Regions from separate parts of the Homo sapiens genome. Here region 2 is linked to region 1. The links are contacts of gene promoters, found by promoter capture Hi-C in blood cells and fetal thymus (Javierre and others, 2016). All regions are on one chromosome and are shown on one strand. Each heading gives the region's core, a stretch centred on a gene start or on the middle of the fragment in contact. The rest is flanking DNA. Distances are from core to core; before and after follow the strand shown. Region 1 holds the start of RABGGTA (Rab geranylgeranyltransferase subunit alpha). Region 2 has its middle 26 kb from the start of DHRS2.

Region 1 (5,646 bases), core at 3,147-5,646:
GGGCTACTGTCAACCGTGTTAGATGACACAGATACCAAACACTTCCATTGTCACAGAAAGTTCTATCGGACAGTGCTACACGCCACTGTAAGCTCTGGAAGACAGAGACTTGTCTTTCTGGTCCACTACTGGATCCCTGGCACCCAACATGCTGTGAGGCCCAGCACTGATGCTGAACATCAAGAGACTGAATAAATGCACACACTACCACACACTGCACATGGCCCGGAGACAGCTCCATTACCTGTCTCGCACTTGCTCCCCCTGCCGTCAGACCATGGCTTCTAGCCAAGCTTTGACCCAGGGCCCTGGCCCAGGGCCCTGACCCAGGGCTCGTGGCCCCCTTTCCTCCCTCCAGACTCTCTGGTCTGTGACGGGCTCAGGGTCCTGGAGCCATTGTAAGTGACTATGTGTGTGTGCTTCTGTGTATGTATGTTGGGAGCAGGAGTAGAGAAAGAATTGGCAGGGGTGGAAAGACGCCAGGGTTCCAGGTCTCAAGAAACTCAGGTTCAGGCCTCTGGCAATGGTCACTCTCACCTATACAGCCGACTCAATTCTGAATCTCGAAGATGTGTGACTTTGGACAAGAAACTAACCTCTGCAAACCCACTGTATTCCCTGTTGCTTCATTGTAAAATATGGATAATACCTATTTCATATAGGTAGTGAGTGCAGTAAATAAGATGTCTGGGGCTCTGTTGATACTCAATTACTGTTTGTTTCTTTCTATACATAGAGGGCAGTAAAAATCTCTTCTTCAAACATCATTTAGATTGTGGCTTTCAGGGCACGGTGGCTCACGCCTATAATCCCAGCACTTTGGGAGGCCGAGGCAGGCAGCTCACCTGAGGTCGGGAGTTCAAGACCAGCCTGACCAACAAGGAGAAACCCTGTCTCTACAAAAAATACAAAATTAGCTGGGCATGGTGGTGCATGCCTGTAATCCCAGCTACTCGGGAGACTGAGGCAGGAGAATCGCTTGAACCCGGGAGGCACAAGTTGCAGTGAGCCAAGATGGTGCCATTGCATCATTCCAGCCTGGGCAACAAAAGCAAAATTTGTCTCAAAAAAAAAAAAAAAAAAAAAGCCGGACATGGTGGCTCACGCCTGTAATCCTAGCACTTTGGGAGGCCGAGGCAGGCAGATCACGAGGTCAGGAGATCGAGACCATCCTGGCTAACAAGGTGAAACCCCGTCTCTACTAAAAATACAAAAAATTAGCTGGGCAGGGTGGCAGGCGCCTGTAGTCCCAGCTACTCAGGAGGCTGAGGCAGGAGAATGGCATGAACCTGGGAGGCAGAGCTGGCAGTGAGCAGACACCGCACCACTACTCCAGCGTGGGTGACAGAACGAGACTCCGTCTCAAAAAAAAAAAAAAAAGATTGTGGCTCTCAGACACCTGCATGGTTCCCACTTATCCCACATAGGAGGCCAAATATAACTCCTGACAACTCCTTTTGCCTTCAAGCAAGAGGCTTATTATCATCAGTTCCACTGCTCTTATCTCCAAAGGCACCTGGCTCAGCCTCTCTGTGCCAGCCAGCTAAGTTAGTTTGGCTTTCTCTCCCCCACCTTCACGTCATATTACATACCTGAAATACCCTTCCTGCCCGCTCTTTCCAAAACTCAAGCCCTGCCTTCTCTGATGCAGATTTTTTCATGAGACTCACTTCCTCTCTTAAGCCTGCTTGACTCAACCTTCCCAGTTTCAAGATTGCTAATCACAATGTGATTAGTGACTATGATGCAAGGCTGTACCTGGCAAATCTGCACTTGAGGGCATCTGTGTTCCCAAGTATCTGGTTGCGCCTATGAGTGTGCACAGAGCAGGAAGCTAGAGAAGGAGGTGACCACCAACAAAAGAAGGCTGGTGGTGAGGTGGGAGGGCTGGACCAGACTAGACACAGGTCCCATTTGGCCACTTATTACATGGGTGGCCCTCAACAAGTTACTTAATCTTTCTGAGCCTCAGCTTCCTATTACTATACTGAGCCCTTACTTAGTACAGACACTATTCTAAGCACTTTACATAGATTCTTTTATTTCAGCTTAACTTCAACAGATTAACTTCAACTGCAGCAGCTAGATAATATTTTTCCTATGTTACTGTTGAAGAAATTCAGACATAGAGGAAACGCAATACAGAAGTTAAGTAACTTGCCCCAGGTCACACTGGGACAAGCAAGTGGCAAAGCTAGGATTTGTAGCCAGGCAGTCTGGCTCCAGGATCCATGTTCTTAATCACTCTGCTTACTGCCTCCTACCTGTAATTCTGTGTGTGTGCACATCCCTCCTATGTATGCAAAACTCCCATCACAGTGGCTGGCACAAAGAGAACCAATAAATGGCTTAACTCTTTCCTCACTGGGACTACAAATACACAGGGATAGGAAAAATGTCTCTTTTCGAGAATTTGTTATAGGATCTAGGAAAGGACAAGTATATAATGGACACTTTACATACATTTCCAGGGGCTGAGAGAGGTGTGAAGGATATATAAAGATTTAAAGCACTGGCGGGGCATGGTGGCTCACACCTGTAATCCCAGCACTCTGGGAGGCCAAGGTGGGCAGATCACCTGAAGTCAGGAGTTTGAGACCAGCCTGGCCAACATGGTGAAACCCCGTCTCTTCTAAAACTACAAAAATCAGTCGGGTGTGGTGGTGCATGCCTGTAGTCCCAGCTACTCCAGAGGCTGAGGCAGGAGAATCGCTTGAACCCAGGAGGCAGAGGTTGCAGTAAGCAGAGATCGTGCCACTGCACTCCTGCCTGGGCAACAGAGTGAGACCCTGTCTCAAAAAAAAAAAAAAAAAAAATTTAAAGCACTACCTTCTTACCCAGGTGTGAGTTATAAACACACACATGCCACATGGACACACTATTCGCAAAGACATCACACACGTGTACGTGTGGTACACACACACTCACTAGCCACCCTGAACCTCATAAAGGCTCCACCAGAAAACCTTCTTTGCAGTAGGCACAGGGAAAAAAATCACAGTCTTTAAAAGTACATATGAAGGTCTATCAAATCAGACTGGGGCATTTTAGAGAACTTCCTCGAGGTGCCACTTGAGTTACATTTTTTTTTCTTTGTACTGTGGAGTTCAAAAAGTTAAATCTTAAAGATAAACAGGAATTACTGTGGCAAAGGAGGAGTGTGGAGAAAGGAGAGTCAAGAGGGAACAGGCTAACATATTTAGGAAACTGCAAGTATTTCTGTAGGCTGTCATGAAGAGTTTTTGGCAGGGTCAGGCAGGATATACAGCCAGAGAGTAGGCAGAGCCCAAATGCCAATAGGTCTGATGTGCTGAGCTGAGAGATTACAATTCTATCCTGAAAAGGAGCCACTCAGCACTTTTAGGCACAGATATGACGTCAAATCTGCATTTTAGAAAAATGGATTCAGTAGCACAGAGGATGGACTGATAACAAGGGATGAGGTGGAGAACACTGAAAAGACTTTCAACAATCTGGAGAAGAAATTCGGAGTTTGAACTCCTAGTGGCAGTGGGAAGAGAAAGAGTATTTAAGCGAGTTTAAGAAGTGAGGAGGAAATAGTGCCATTCACTACAATAGAAAACATAAAGGCCAATGTTTAGACAGGATGGATGAAAGATAATTTATACCTTTTGGCTTTTGGAGTTTGAGGTGTCTCTGGGACACCAGGTGATATCCAACAGGTGTTTGAATATGTATGTGCATGTATATTATTTATTGTTATTTAAGCTTGCAAGACATCTGGGCTGGAGATATAAATTTGGGTGTCATCAATTTACAGGTAGTAATTAAAACAATGAGTGTGGATGAACTCACCCAGAGAAAGTGTAATGCCAGATTTGTGGGCCAAAACAGCTCTGAGGAGCTCCAACTCGAAGCAGTTGAAGGCTTACATTTAAACATTCTCCCAGGAACAGTGGGTGAAGTGAAAAAGGGGTGAGGAAAGGGCCCTGGAGATCACCAACATTTAGGGGTGGAGGTGAACAGATGAGAAGAGAGAGGCAGAGGTGCAGGAGGAGAAGCCAGAATGGGGGTGTCAAGTATAAAGAAATGGGTAGCGTCAAATGCTTCAGAGGTTAGAGAAAATGACAGGAAACTCCCCCTGTTAGATTTGACATCTAGAAGGCTGTCGGTGTGGCCAGGGTGAGGTCAGTGGAGTAGTGAAGGTGCGGGTTTCCGGCTGTTGGAGAAACCTCTTCCACTAACTACATTGCACTCTGAGTTACCAACTGGCATGGTCCTCCCCCCATTTCACACGCACGCTACAGTCGCCCGTGCGCACTCGTACACACCAGGTGGCTAACAGGTACGAGGCGTTTCCGGACAGCGAGCGCAGAGCCCCCGCGCACGCGCCTCCGAGCCGGCCTCTTCCGCCGCAAGTCCCTCCCCAAGCCTGCAGAGTGCGCTGCGTTTCGATGAGCCGGGACGTGGCGCCGCTCTAGCCAGCGCCTGGGCTCTGTGGCGGGCGCCGCAGCTCCGCGTCCCCCGCGCCTCCTCCCAGCGCAGGTGGGTCCGCCCGCGGGGGGCGGGGGTGCCCGGGAGCCGTGGGACGGGCGGGTAGCGGCAACCTTTGGGGAGCAGAGTGGTCCCCAACGCCCAGGTGCCCCGGCTCGCGCTCTGGCCCGGGCGAATCGGGCTATAGGAAGGGCCACACGGATGGAAGTCCTAGTCCGGGTGCTCACCTCTTGTGGAACGTGCAAAGCCTGTCCCAGGACCTCTTTACACTCTGGGGGTCTCTGCCCAGGCACGCTTGCTGCTTCCGGACACAGCTGTGGGCGGAGCTAGTAGGGGCGGGGCTACGTGATTGACACTTCTCTCCTCAGACTTCAAGGGCTACCACTGGACCCTTCCCCTGTCTTGAACCCTGAGCCGGCACCATGGTGAGAACCCTGAGCCCAGCCCTTCACCTCCGCAGGCCCGCGCCCTCACCCCCAGTGGCAGTGCCATGGTTGCCCCGTATGAACCTAGGGCTCCACAGTGTGGGGTTTTTGCAGGTCAGCTTCTGCAAGGCAACCTGCACTCTTCCAACCCGTTCATCCTTGTAGCACGGACGCCTGAAGGTGAAGACGTCAGAAGAGCAGGCGGAGGCCAAAAGGCTAGAGCGAGAGCAGAAGCTGAAGCTATACCAGTCAGCCACCCAGGCCGTATTCCAGAAGGTGGGGCCCTCAGAGGTAGCCCCGACCCCAAGTAGCTCCCTTAGTATAGTGCAGAGGCCAAGAGCTGGTCCCTAGAGTCAGACTGCCTAGATCCAATTCTGGGTTATCTCACTTATAACTGTATGACTTTGGGCAAGTTGCTGAATCTCTTTGGGCCTCAGTTTGCTCATCTGTAAAATGGGGCTAATAATTGCACCTACTGCATAAGGCTGTTGTGAAGATTAAATGAGAGAATACCTGTAAGGCCATAAAGCATGGTTCATAGTACCTGTTGTATAATGTGGGATTCACAGAATATTGGATGGTTTTAAGTTTACGTTATTTAGTCCTGTAGTGGGAAAATTATATGATCTCTAACCCTGCCACCTATCTTCTTAGCGCCAGGCTGGTGAGCTGGATGAGTCCGTGCTGGAACTGACAAGCCAGATTCTGGGAGCCAACCCTGATTTTGCCACCCTCTGGAACTGCCGACGAGAGGTGCTCCAGCAGC
Region 2 (5,646 bases), core at 1,359-3,858, 660 kb after region 1:
CTCCAAAATATGCATCAAGTTCTCCGCTTCTCTCCATCTCCGCCGCGCTCTCTCATCTGACCACTTCATTCCACTCATACACTCTCACAAGCTATTCTCTTTCCACCTGCAGACAGCATTAGCATTTTAAACATCAGTCTCCACTGCTTAAAACTCTGCAATGGCTTGCCATTGTACTAAGAATCAAATCCAAATTATTTCCCCAACTTACAGAGCCCCCACGGTGTCTGGCCCCAAGCTCTTCCCAGACCATCCTACTGCACTTTCCCCTCCACCTGCGTGCTTCAGCCTCCAGCCGGCCAGGTCAGGCCTGCCTTCACAGTCCCTGTATCTGCTGGCCCTTGAAAGCTCTTCCCACAAACACTTCATTGCTGTTAAATGTCAACCCTCATAGAGACATTCCCTGTTCACCTGGTATGAGACAGATCCTCAGCAGCGCTCTCTCCCACTTTTCTCTTTTATTTTCTTCATGGCACTTATCACCTGCCTAATATTTTTTGTTTGTTTGTTTAGGTTATTTCCTCACCTACTGGAATGTAAGCTCTGCAAGCTTATACTAATAACTAACACTTACGTAGTCCTTATTTTGTGCCAGGCACTGTTCTAAGTACTTTATATGTGTAAACTCACTTAGTCTCCACCACTATCCTGAAAAGTTGCACTCTGAACATCTCTGTGTTTCAGAAGATAAAACTGAGCAACAGAGAGGCAAGGTAACTTATCTATGGTCACACAGCTTGTAAGTCGTGAAGCTGGGATGCAAGCCCAGGCAGTCTGGCTATGGAGTCTGTGCTCTTTTTTTTTTTTTTTTTTTTTTGAGACGGAGTCTCGCTCTTATCGCCCAAGCTGGAGTGCAGTGGCGTGATCTCGGCTCACTGCAACCTCCACCTGCCGGGTTCAAGCAATTCTCCTGCCTCAGCCTACTGAATAGCTGGGATTACAGGCGTGTGCTACCACGCCCAGCTAATTTTTGTACTTTTAGTAGAGACAGGGTTTCACCACATTGGCCAGGCTGGTCTCGAATTCCTGATCTCAGGTGATCTGCCCACCTTGGCCTCCCAAAGTGCTGGGATTACAGGCATGAGCCACCGTGCCTGGCCGAATCTGTGCTCTTAACCCTCATCCTTTATGACCTTCATGGGAGTGGGGTGCTTATTTGTATTGTTCTCCACCAAGTTTCCAGCACCTGTAATAGTGCCCGACAGAGGGGAAGCACCAATAAATATTTGTAGAATAAGCAAATGAATGTTGTATAACTGGTTTAAAGATAAAGCTTGCCTTTGAACCAGATTGGTCGGGCTCCAAAACCACACTCTCCAGAGTATGGGATTGTAGTATTTCAATTTTCAACTCAGAAATTCACTGAAGCTTGCCCTCTACTCTAAAGATGTCTACAGTCCTGTGGGGAAGGCATATTTAAGTAACTACAAGCCAGGTAGAAAAACTGCGGTGTCACAAGGAAAGGGCACACAAAGTGCCATGAGGGAGTGATAACTTTTAACTAGTAGCTCAAGGAAGGATTTGAGGTGAAAGTGGCATTTGCACTGGGTTTGGAAGACTCTGGACAGGCAGAGATGAGAAGGAGCATGTAACTGAAACTACAAGTTGTCTCCTAATGTCTGTTTCCTCTTCTTCCACAGTAATCATATTCCAAAATGTTAGCTGTGCAATTGACCACTGAGAATAAAGGCTATATTTCCCAGCTGCCCTTGCAGCCAGGCACGGCTACCTGACCATGTTCTGCATAAAAGGTTATAGAGAAGTCAGGGATGAAACTTCCATGAGGTGTTCTCAAGTGGAAGGAGCATGCCCACCTCCTTTCTTTGTCTCCCTCCTGCTGTCTAGAACATGACTCTGATGACTGGAGACAAAGCAGCTATCTTTGGCCTCAGAAGGCACATGTTGAGGATGTGGACTACAATGTTGAGGCAGTCTGATCACGAAGGCACGATATGAGGCCCGCTACAGTCTTGTTTAAGCCACTGTTACAAGTGTCTTAGGTTGGGTTACCACAGCAGATCCTAAGACAAGGCTTTATGTGCAAGTAGTTTATTAAACAGATGCTCCCAGCAGGGAGCAATGGCTCCTATCTATAATCCCAGAACTTTGGGAGACCAAGACAGGAGGATTGCTTGAGGCCAGAAGTTTCAGACCAGCCTGAGTAACATAGTGAGACCCCTGTCTCTACAAAAAATTTAAAAATTAGCTGATCAGGTCATGTGTGCCTGTAGTCCCAGCTACTCAGGAAGCTGAGGCAGGAAGTTCCTTTGAGCATAGTAGTTTGAGGTTACAGTGAGCTATGATTATGCCACTGCACTCCAGCCTTAGTGGCAAAGTGAGACCTTGTCTCAAAAATAAAAATTAAAAAAATGCTCCCAGGAGAAACCAGTAAGGGAGTGTGGAAAGTAAGACAGGGAAGGGAGGAGGACAAGCAAGGGAATGTTTCAGCAAAGCCCCAGCCTTAGCCTGGTCCCAAAGGTCAGTTCTGGAGTGTAAACTACACCTCACAGTTTGCCCAGATTTCAGACAATGGAACTAGGCTGTTACCTAGTTCAGCTAAAGGCTGCCCCTGCTTCTCTCGATGTGCAGAAGCTGTGGGAGATGATTAAACGGGTCACAGGGGCTCTGGTGCAACCTCAATGGGCCCCTTACACTGGGTTTTCTCTCACTCATAACTTAACCTAATCCTAAAAAGTACCAAAAACATTTCTGGCAGAGGGGAGAGTATAAATAAAGTGCACAGAACCTGAAGGAACAAGAGGCTATATGAAAGTATTGGAAAGGAAGAGGACAGGAAAGAAAGAAATAGGAAACAAATTTGGAAAACCAAACTGTAGTCACTGGGACTTGATATGGTTTGGCTGCGTCCCCACCCAAAACTCATCTTGAATTGTACCTCCCCACATCTCGCTTCTGCACTGCCCTAGCAGAGGCTCTCCATGAGGGCCCTGCCCCTGCAGCAAACTTCTGCCTGGACATCCAGGCATTTCCATACACAGCAGTCGGGGCCTGGAAATGTAGGGTTGAAGCCCCCACACAAAGTCCCCACTGGGGCACTGCCTAGTGGAGCACCATCCTCCAGACCCTAGAATGGTAGATCCACCAACAGCTTGCACCATGCACCTGGAAAAGCCGCAGACACTCAACACCAGCCCATAAAAGCAGCCGGGAGGGACTTTGTACCTTGCAAAACCGCAGGAGTAGAATGACATGGTTTGGCTATGTCCCCATACTGTTCTCATGATAGTGAATAAGTCTCACGAGATCTGATGTTTTTATAAGGGGCTTCCCCTTTTGCATGGCTCTCTATCTTGCCTGCCACCATGTAAGAAGTCCCTTTGCTCTTCCTTGGTCTTCTGCCATGACTGTGAGGCCTCCCCAGCCATATGGAACTGTGAGTCCATTAAACCTCTTTTTCTTTATAAATCACCCAGTCTTGGGTATGTTTTATCAGCAGCGTGAAAATGAACTAATACAGAACTGTATAAAATTTTGAATTTCTGGCCAATGCATAAACAAAGGGAAACCAAAAGGACTTTGAATCTGATGATTCAGAAGATTAATCTGGCAACTATGTGTGAGAGGAATTGGAATGAAACTTGTGTAGGGTAATACCCATTATGAGGTCATATCTATAATCCAGGCAAGAGGTAATGGTGGCACAACCCCAGGTGATGGTGCTGGGAAGGGAAAGTAGAGAATAGTTGCGAAGTCTTACAGAGAAAGATCTGGTCTTTCTAAATGCTTTGACACGAGAGAAAAGAGACAGAGAGGATCCAAACATGAAGCCAGGGACAATGGTGGCATTGCCAACAAAAATAGGTAACAGAGGAGAAGAAACAAGCTTGATAGAAAATATGAATTCTACCTATTGACATGGTGACTTTGAGATGAAGGGAAGCCTTCTAAATGGAGTTGTCAAGAAGGCAGTTAGAAATGCAAGACTGATAACAGAATTCAAGCATGGAGCCATGGATGTGTGCATTGTCTACAGAGATGTGATAGAAGCCATGACTGTGGATAGGATTACTAAGGGAGGGAGGGCAGAGACAGAAGAGGAAAAGGCCAGTATAAGATACTTGTAAGTTGTGCTGTTTGCCTGTTGCCTCTTGGGCCCATGCCACCCTCCCCTGTGGTGTGAGGGCCAAGGGACTGCCAACAGCCTTTCCCAGACTCTCTCTTGCCAGCTGGCTTCCTATTCAATTCTGCTACTAAGAGGCACTGAGACGTGGCTGAAGGACATAGGGTGAGAGAAGGGTTTTCCTCCTGTTTCCAGCTCCTGTCAATGTCCCTCCAGGAGGACTCTAGCCTAGGGCTTAGCAAACTTTTTCTGTAAAGAGCTGGACATGAAGTAGTTTAAGCTTTGCAGGCCATATGGTCTCTGTTATAACTCCTCAACTCTGCCATTGTACTGCAAGAGCAGACATAAACAATATATAAATGAATAAGGATGACCACATTGCAATAAAACTTTATTCATGGACACTGGAGTTTGAGTGTTTTATAATTTTCATGTGCCATGAGATATATCTTCCTTTTCGGTTTTATTTTCAGCCATTTTTAAAATATGAAGAATATTCTTTTTTTGTTTGCTTGTTTTTTGAGATGAACTCTTGCTCTGTCACCCAGTCTGGAGTGGAGTGGCGCAATCTCGTCTCACTGCAACCTCTGCCTCCCGGGTTCAAGCAACTCTCCTGCCTCAGCTTCCCAAGTAGCTGGGACTACAAGTGTGCACCACCATGACTGGCTAATTTTTTTTTTTTTTTGTATTTTTAGTAGAAACAGGATTTTGCCACATTGGCCAGACCGGTCTCGAATTCCTGACCTCAGACCATCCACCCGCCTCGGCCTCCCAAAGTGCTGGGATTACAGGCGTGAGCCCCGTGCCTGGCCAAAATGTGAAGAACATTCTTAGCTCGTGGGCCATGGAGAAACAGGTGGCAGCTGGATTTGGCCTATGGGCAATAGGTTGCCCGTGCTAGCTCCCAATTCTTCAGACACTCCTGGCAGCAGGTGAACTGCACCTCCTGGAGATACCAGCGCCCCAGAGGCTCAACCCCATCACAATGCATCCTCATTCTGTGGTCTGAACATGGGCCAGGCAAGGCTGAGCCTGGAGGCTCTGGTGGCCCCACTTCTTCTCTTCTGTCCCTCCAGCCCTGAGAAGGAACTCCTGTAGTTACCATATCTGGTCACTGCAGCATCTCCATTTGCCCTTCCAACCCTCCAACACTGGAGTAGTCAATTCCCTGAATACATCCCTTCTGTAAGAAATGCCTTGCATGGAATCGTTTTCCTGCTTGGACTCTGACTGACACAGAAATCCTTCCATTTTAGGGAGGGGAAGAAGAAAAGGAAGCCAAAAGGGAGAAGTCAAAGACTGAAGAGGCAAATTAGGAGTGTCCCCACACTGAAGGGAAAAGAAGCTCAGGAAGAAGGTCCTGGGGAGCAGCAGTTGCCACTGCTGAGAGGTGAAGAGGATGCCTGCGAAGAGGGTGATGAGCTGAGGAACTTCCAGAAGTCATCCTCAGGGGGTGGCAGGGGCCCGGGAGCTGGAGGCAGACAAGACACAGCCTCCTCTTGTGAGAGTTTGTGAGAGGCAGGGTCTGAGGCAGTCCCTTGTGATGCAGGAGAGAAGCATGGAGA

What was found. The method cuts DNA at HindIII sites, captures the fragments that hold promoters and counts their contacts. A CHiCAGO score of 5 or more calls a contact.
Region 2: a contact is called between a fragment that was not itself captured here and the fragment with the promoter of RABGGTA in region 1, in 1 of 17 cell types (total CD4 T cells). The highest score is 7.0, in total CD4 T cells.

What each region holds. Positions count from the first base shown.
Region 1 is chr14:24,270,347-24,275,992 of GRCh38, reverse strand. RABGGTA (Rab geranylgeranyltransferase subunit alpha) reads left to right here and starts at 4,396. Exons shown (of 17, transcript NM_182836.3): 1 at 4,396-4,506; 2 at 4,824-4,880; 3 at 5,046-5,156; 4 at 5,535-5,646. The coding sequence starts at 4,878. It also overlaps a transcript of NOP9 not described here. RefSeq lists enhancers at 1,301-1,400, 1,491-1,590, 1,941-2,070, 4,049-4,128, 4,869-5,078 and 1 more and silencers at 4,219-4,318, 4,389-4,678. The HindIII fragment of the contact is 2,930 bases long and covers 3,732-5,646 here.
Region 2 is chr14:23,607,175-23,612,820 of GRCh38, reverse strand. No RefSeq gene overlaps it. Among named protein-coding and RNA genes, the nearest start is that of DHRS2, 26 kb to the left of the region's middle. The HindIII fragment of the contact is 2,476 bases long and covers 1,371-3,846 here.